2 separate regions of the Homo sapiens genome follow, and region 1 is linked to region 2. Evidence: promoter capture Hi-C in human tissues and cell types (Jung and others, 2019). All regions are on one chromosome and are shown on one strand. The core of a region is centred on a gene start or on the middle of the fragment in contact, and the rest is flanking DNA. Distances in the headings are between cores, read along the strand shown. Region 1 overlaps MSH3 (mutS homolog 3). Region 2 holds the start of RASGRF2 (Ras protein specific guanine nucleotide releasing factor 2).

The links. The method cuts DNA at HindIII sites, captures the fragments that hold promoters and counts their contacts. A contact is called where the count stands out against the background at its distance.
Region 1: a fragment that was not itself captured here is called in contact with the fragment with the promoter of RASGRF2 in region 2 in 2 of the 25 tissues and cell types used here (H1 embryonic stem cells and adrenal gland).

What each region holds. Positions count from the first base shown.
Region 1 is chr5:80,855,191-80,859,296 of GRCh38, reverse strand. All of the region lies in intron 21 of MSH3 (mutS homolog 3), which reads right to left. It also overlaps the pseudogene RPS26P27. Among named protein-coding and RNA genes, the nearest start is that of RASGRF2, 100 kb to the left of the region's middle. The HindIII fragment of the contact is 4,064 bases long and covers 1-4,039 here.
Region 2 is chr5:80,957,966-80,961,633 of GRCh38, reverse strand. It overlaps RASGRF2 (Ras protein specific guanine nucleotide releasing factor 2), which reads right to left and starts at 1,271. Exons shown (of 27, transcript NM_006909.3): 1 at 608-1,271. The coding sequence starts at 895. It overlaps RASGRF2-AS1 (RASGRF2 antisense RNA 1), which reads left to right and starts at 727. Exons shown (of 4, transcript NR_105015.1): 1 at 727-853. RefSeq lists an enhancer at 447-1,168. The HindIII fragment of the contact is 17,436 bases long and covers 1-3,668 here.

The sequences.
Region 1 (4,106 bases), core at 758-3,257, 100 kb after region 2:
ATACAAAAATTAGCCAGGCGTGGTGGCACACACTTGTAATCCCAGCTACTCGGGAGGCTGAGGCACAAGAATCACTTGAATCTGGGAGGCAGAGGTTGCAGTGAGCTGAGATTGTACCACTGCACTCCAGCCTGGGTGACAGAGTGAGACTCTATCTAAAATATATATATATATATGGAGGAAGATACATCATGTTAACATTAAAGAAAGCTGAAGCAGCTATATTAATTTCTAAAGGAAGTTAGAGTAGCTATATTAATTTGAGACAGAGCAGACTTCAGATCAAGTAAATTTGTCAGGGATAAAGAAGGATATTATATAATGATAAAGGGATAATGATAAAATGATAAAGGATATTATGTCTTATGTCCAAGAAGACATAATATCCTTAACATGTATGCATTTAACAAGAGAATGTCAAACTACATGAGGCAAAAGCTGATAGAACTACAAAGAGAAACAGATGAACATACTACTATAGTTAGAGATATCAAAATTCCTCCATCTGAAACAGACAGATCCAGCAGGCAGAAAATCAGTAAGGACACAGCTGAACTCAACAACACCATCAATCAACTAGACATCATTTATATCTATAGATACTTCAACCAACAGCTGAATACACATTCATCTCAAGCTAACATGGAACATTCACCAAGAAAGACCACATTTTGGGCCATAAAACACATGTTGACAAATTTAATATAATAAAAATCATACAATATTTGATCTCATACCACAATGGAATTAAACTAGGAATCATAACAAAAAGGTAACTGGAAAATCCCCAAATACATGGAGACTAAACAACACATTCTTAAAAAACATATGGGTCAAAAAAGAAATAAAGAGAAATTTAAAATATTTGGAACTAAGTAAAAACAGGAAGCACACCTTATCAAAATTTGTGGAACCGCACCAAAAGCAGTGCATAGAAGAAAATTTATAGGCCAGGAGCGGTGGCTCACACCTGTAATCCCAGCACTTTGGGAGGCCAAGGCAAGAGGATCACTGGAGTCCAAGAATACGAGACCAGCCTGGGCAACATAGTGAGACCCCAATCTCTATAAAAAATAAAAGTGAAATTAGCTGGGTGTTGTGGCATGTGCCTGTAGTCCCAGCTACATGGGAGGCTGAGGCAGAAGGATCACTTGAGCCCAGGGAGTCGAGGTTGCAGTGGGCTATGTTCATGCCACTGCAGTCCAGCCTGGGTAACAGAGCAAGACCCTGTCTCAAAAAAGAAAAAATGGAAAGAAAAGAAAGAATAAAAAAAGAAAATTTATAGCACTGAACACATTAGAAAAAAAGAACAATTTAAAATAAACAATCTAAGCTTCTATCTTAGGACACCAGAAAGAGAAGAGCAAAAATAAGCAAAAGAAAAGAGATAATAAAAATTAGAGCAGAAATCAATGAAATTAAAACAAGAAAGCAATGGGGAAAATAATCAATAGAACCAAAAGCTGGTTCTTTGAAAAGAAAACTGATAAGCTTCTAGTCAAGCTAACTAAGAACAAAAGAGAAAAGACACAAATGGCTAATATCAGAAATGAAAAGGACAACACTACGGATGCCGTGGACAAATAAAAGGATAATAAAGGAATACTATGACCAACTCTATGTCCACAAATCTGGTAACCTTGGTGAAAATTTCTTGAAAAACAATTCCTTAAAAGACACAATGAGCCAAAACTCACACAAGAAAAAAAACAGAAATTCTGAATAGGTCTATATCTATTGAAGAACTTGAGTCAATGGCCTTCTAAAACCAAAATCATAGGCCCAGATGGCTTCACTGGTGAACTCCACCAAATGTTTAAGGAAGATATTTTACCAATTCTCTATAGTCTTTTTCAGAGGACAGGAGTGGAGTAAATACTTTCTAACTCATTCTATGAGGCCAGCATTACCTTAATACTAAAACCAAAGACATTATAAGAAAACTATAAACCAGTATCTCTCATAAACATAGATGCAAAAATCCTCAATAAAATATTAGCAAAATGAATCCAACAATGTATAAAAAGAAAAACAGACCATAACCAAGTAGGACTCATCCCAAGTGTGTAAGACTCATTCAACATTTGAACACCAGTTAACGTAATCCATCACATCAACAGGCTAAAGAAGAAAAATCACATGACCATATCAATAGATGCACAGAAAGCATTTGACAAAATCTAACACCCATTCAATAAAAACTCTCAGTAAACTAGGAATAGAGGAGAACTTCCTCAATTTGGTAAGGAATATCCACAAACAACCTCTAGCTAACATCATACTTAACGGTGAGAAACTCAAAGCTTTCCCACTAAGATCAGAAACAAGGCAACGATATCCTTTCTTACTGCTTTTTCAACACTGTACTGAAAGTCCTAGTTACTGCAATAAGACAAGAAAAAAAAAATAGATGGGGAAGAAAGAAGTGAAACTGTCTGTTTGTATCTGACATGACTGCCTATGTAGGAAATTCAAAAGAATTGGCAAACATACACACAGACTGGAATTAGTAAGTGATTACAGCAAGGTTGCAGGATCCAAGGTTAATGTACAAAAGTCAATTGCTTTCCTATGTAGTTTCTTTTTTTTATTATTATTATACTTTAAGTTTTAGGGTACATGTGCACAATGTGCAGGTCAGTTACATTTGTATACATGTGCCATGTTGGTGTGTTGCACCCATTAACTCGTCATTTAACATTAGGTATATCTCCTAATGCTATCCCTCCCCCCTCCCCCCACCCCACAACAGGCCCCAGTTTGTGATGTTCCCCTTCCTGTGCCCATGTGTTCTCATTGTTCAACTCCCACCTATGAGTGAGAACATGCGGTGTTTGGTTTTTTGTCCTTGCGATAGTTTGCTGAGAATGATCGTTTCCAGCTTCATCCATGTCCCTATAAAGGACATGAACTCATCATTTCCTACGTAGTTTCTATAATGATTAAAGTTTCTGAGTTACATCTTTTTGCAAATAAATTTTTTAAAGCAAAACAAAAAATTCCTTAAAAAAAACAAAATGTTATAATTACCTATGTAATCTAAATAAATGTTTAAACAAAACCTGAGTCACTCTTGGGTCTTCACTGCCAAAATAACAAAGAAAAGAAGGGAGGCTGGGCATGGTAACTCATGCCTATAATCCCAGAACTTTGGGAAGCCAAGGCAGGTGGATCACTGGAGCCTGAAAGTTCAAGACTAGCCTGAGCAACACGGTGAAACTCCATTCCTAAAAGAATACAAAAATTAGCTGGGTATGGTTGGTGTGTGCCTGTAGTCCCAGCTACTCGGGAGGCCGAAGTGGAAGGATCACCTGGGCCCAGGTAGGTCGAGGCTGCAGTGAGCCATGATCATGCCACTGCACTGCAGCCTGAGTGACAGAGTGAACCCATTTCAAAAAAGAAAAAAAAAAAAAAAAAAAAAAAGAGGAGGAGGAGGAAGAGAAAGAAGAGGAGGAGGAGGAACAACAACAACGGTTGTGCCAAAAAGGGCCATAGCTAGGTACAACCTATTTGCTGCACAAACTGTGTTGGATGCACACCTAAGGACAAGGCTATTTAGAAGTTTGTCATTTGAAATATAGTAGAAGGTACAGCTGTCAGGGACATTTCCAAATTGAGTGTCGTTGATGTCTCTGTGCTTCCCAAACAGTGTATGAAACTGTATTACTGCACAAGTTCTGCCGCTCACAGCAAGGTAGTCAGGAATCATTCTCATGAAGCCTAGAGGACCAAACAACTCTGCTCCAATTTAGATCTGAGGATGCTGCCCCATGATCTCCATCAAAGCCTGTTCATGGAGCTGAGTCTCTAAAGACTGAAGAAAAACTATCTTCTGGAAAAAAATTAAATGGAAATTAAGCTTTAAAAACAAAACTAAACCCCAAAACACCAATGGCAACAAAAGGTTAAAGAAAAATACATTTTATTTTTGTGTTGCTTTTTGAAAAGAAATATTAAAAATATGATTTTATTGGCTATTTAAGGAAGAGAGAAAGAAATGAAAATGAGGGAAGACACAATGACAAAGGAGCAAGAAAATGGGGGGGAAAACAGAAAGAAAGACCAGAGAAGGGAAAGACCTAAGGAGAGGTGCCATGAAGGGGAGA
Region 2 (3,668 bases), core at 22-2,521:
GGAATATGAATACACATTTACCTTCATAATTACACCCAGCAGGTCAAATGTTAGCAAGGCCAACTGACCGAAATCACAAAGACTGATTGAAAATGACCAACAGAAAGTGTCTGTCCGGCTTGGGAGCCCCGCTTGTTCCCAGCCCAACCAGTGGTCAAACATCTGCAGGCAAAGAAATCTACACGCGCCAGCCGGGTATGGCAGAAATCAAACTTTTCCAAATAAGTTAGTTCCGTCTTGCCAATCTACACCCAACAGGTGTCAATACATGTCACCAGACAAAAATCTGGCGAGCCAGGTCTAGAGAAGCAATAGATGGTTGGCAGAGAAGCTGAAACGACTCGACCTCTACCAGGGTAATGAAAGCAAGTCGGGCCACTATTCTGACTGATCACTTGGCAGTGGGGTGGAGGGGTATGGAGATGGGAGAATCCCTGGATGAAGATCGGAAGGAGCGTGGAGATGTCCCGCCACTGGTGACGCGGGGGGATTTCGGAGCATAGTCCCCGCACTCTTTCACGACCCCCGACCCCTGATCCCCGGATTAGGACGGCAAGGGAGTGCGGCGATCAAGGCTGGGAGACCGCGGAGAGAAGGCGCGCGGTACCTGCTTGTCCAGCGCGTCTCGGACGCCTCCCTGCCCGGCGCCGGCCCTGGGTGGCGCGGGCGTTCGTTCGCAGCTGCAGCCCTCCAGGAGGTACATGCCCGCCGGGCGGCAGCTCTGCTCGCCCTCGAAGTAGAAGAGCACATTCTGGTAGAGGGCGAACCACTTCTCGTGCCAGCGGCTCGCCTCGGCCGTCTTCTTACTCAGGAAGCCGCGCTTGGTGCCCTCCTTGCGCGCCAGAAAGGCCAGGTACAGGGCGTGCCCCTCGTTGTAGCGCACGCTCTTCTGCATGGTGCGGGTGCGGAGGGCTCACGGGTGGCCGCCGGTCTCACCCCTGCCTCGCGGCCATGGCCCAGCTGGCTCCCTCGAGGGCGCGACCGCTCAGGTCCCGGCCGGCGAAGGGCGCCCCCTTTCCCCACGCCGCGCGCAGGGCACCCCGCCCGCTTTCGGGAGGCCGCGGCGCGCGGTGGCAGGGGCGCGGGCTGGGGCCGAGGCACGCTCTCCGCCCTAACCACCACCCTCCCGGCCGAGCCCCCGGAGCCCCCCAAGCCCCCAACGCCCGCGTGGAGCGCGGCCCCGCGAGGGCGCCCGAGCCGGCCGCCGCTTCGCCCAAAGTTGCGGGAGCCGAGCCCCCGCGGCGGGCTGGGGCGGCAGCCGGGGAAGGACTGTCCTCGGGCAACGCGCTCCGGGAGACAGAAGGTAAAACGTCACGTGGGAGCTCAGCTGTAATCGGCTTGGAGACCGATTTAAAGGGCAAAGTCGGCGCGGCGCCGGCGGTGGCGCAGCCCGCTTGCCCCGGCTCGCGTCCCTCCCTCGCCCGCCCCGGCCCGGGCCGCTGCCTCTGCTCGGGCGCCCGCCGGGATGGGGCGGATCAGGGAGGTGGAGGCGCCCGGCCGCACCACACACCCGCTCACACGCGCTCGCACACTCGCGCACAACGCGCGCACACACACACGCACACCCACACACACGCAGACCAGTACATTCACCCAGATCCACAATGCACACACTCAGACGCACAAAAATACACTCACAAATGCACACAAACACAATGCGCGCACATATGCACAAAAACACACGCGCACACACTCATGACACACAAATACACATTCTCACAACGCTCACACTCAACACACAGTCACAACGCACAAATGCATATAGACAAATACACCCACAATGTGCGTTCCCGCGCACAAAAATAAAACCCACATTCAGATACACACTTAAGGAGCTACACACATGCACGCAGTGATATGCTCACTTACACACACATTCACACACAACCCACACATTCACTCAAACCCACATTCAAACATACATTCATACACACATTACACTCATACAGTCACACAAACAGCACACATATACTCACACGTTCACAATCATACAGACTCATAAGCAGATAATCAAACACACACACAGATGAACACACATGTACATTCACAAATTCATCCAAAAATACACACAAAGCACTCACACACGTATTCGCACGAATCCACACACTTTCACAAACCCACTCACACATACACACACACTCACATGCCACATCCATAAGTACGTTCCCATGGCAGTAGGTAGAGTCACAGAGTGGCTTTGCATAGCCCGCATCCTTGGCTTTTCTGCTTGTACCTGCATTGTAGTATTTAAAACTGCCGGTAAAGGTTAAGGAGAGTGGCCCAAGTGTTCCCGGAAAGGCATCAGATGCCGAAGTTCTTTCGGAATGCCTGTTATTTCACAGTGGTAAGATGCTAAATTTTAAGTGCCGAGTTTTCAACCTGGAAAAAAATACCCAAATAAGGGACACTTTGCTGCCCAGGGCAGAATCCAACCCCAAAGGCCAGCTGTCACAGGCTCATCGTTTGTAGGACTGGATTCATTTGATTAACAAATCTGACAGGTACAACCAGAAAACCAAGAGCCACCCCCCCGCCCCAACCCCATGCTGTAAAAATGTAAGTGGAAAAGAAATAATGTAGCCAGCAGCTGTGAGAGAAAGCCAGTGAAACCCCCGGGGAGGGCCTATATTTGATTCTGCTATACACATTTTTTATTTTCCCCAGTCATTTATCACTAAAACGGAGTGCCATCATAAAATGTTTATTGTTAAAAGTAAATAATAATGCTTTTCTGGGTGATGAGTCTACGACAATACACCTGTCTTGTACTGCCAGTTGTGTGTTCATGAATTGGTAGCCCCAGGGGTTCTGCCTGTTTCATAAGTGCTGTTTCTGCAGAATATTTTAACTCTGCCTCACTGAGCAGCTGAGTGGGGTTTTTTTTTCCTTTTACCTTTTTAAAAAATTTTCACTTTTAACAAGTATATAGTAGGGAAATTGCCATTTTGAAATTACAGCGTGAGAACAGTGGTCATTTCTCTTTACGTTTTTAAAAATATCTAAAGGACAGTGCTGTGCTAAATTGGGTTTAACCCAGCTGGAAGTTTGCATTGTTCTTCAGAGAAGACACAAGTACAGAGACAGTAAGTAAATGCAGGCAACATTTTGGAGCCAGATTCTAGATGCAGAGGAGCTGGTGATTGCCTCAGGAGGCCTTTTATTTCTTTCTCTGTGGTCCAATCCCAGCTGTGAGAACCGTAAGTGAGTAGACACCTGTGTGGTTGATAAGCTCCATTTTTTTAGTAGAAACCAGTAAGAGTGTGAAATCAGCACAAAAACTATTTTGCCATGAGTAGTCAAACCTTCTAACGCACTTGAGTTTTTTCAGATGTGAAAGATTCTCTTCTTCAATAAGCAATGTCTCAGTTACCATCTCTGTCTCCTTAAATGTGCTTTTCATTTGAACCACATGAAATATTCACAACCTCTTGTCTGACATCACTTCCTACCACGGAAGGTTATGTGGCCCTTATATGCCACCCCATCTGCTCTGCCCCTGGACAATGAGAGAAAGGAGTGCTTGTTTCCTGCAAAATTTGGCTGGTGATTACCGTGGGTTTTGATTATGGAAATTCACTGCAAGAACCATTTATTGATCACTAGTTTATGTCCTCAACACTATATTTAGGTGATGTAGAGCATATAGAGAAAAAGCATTGCCTGTGTTC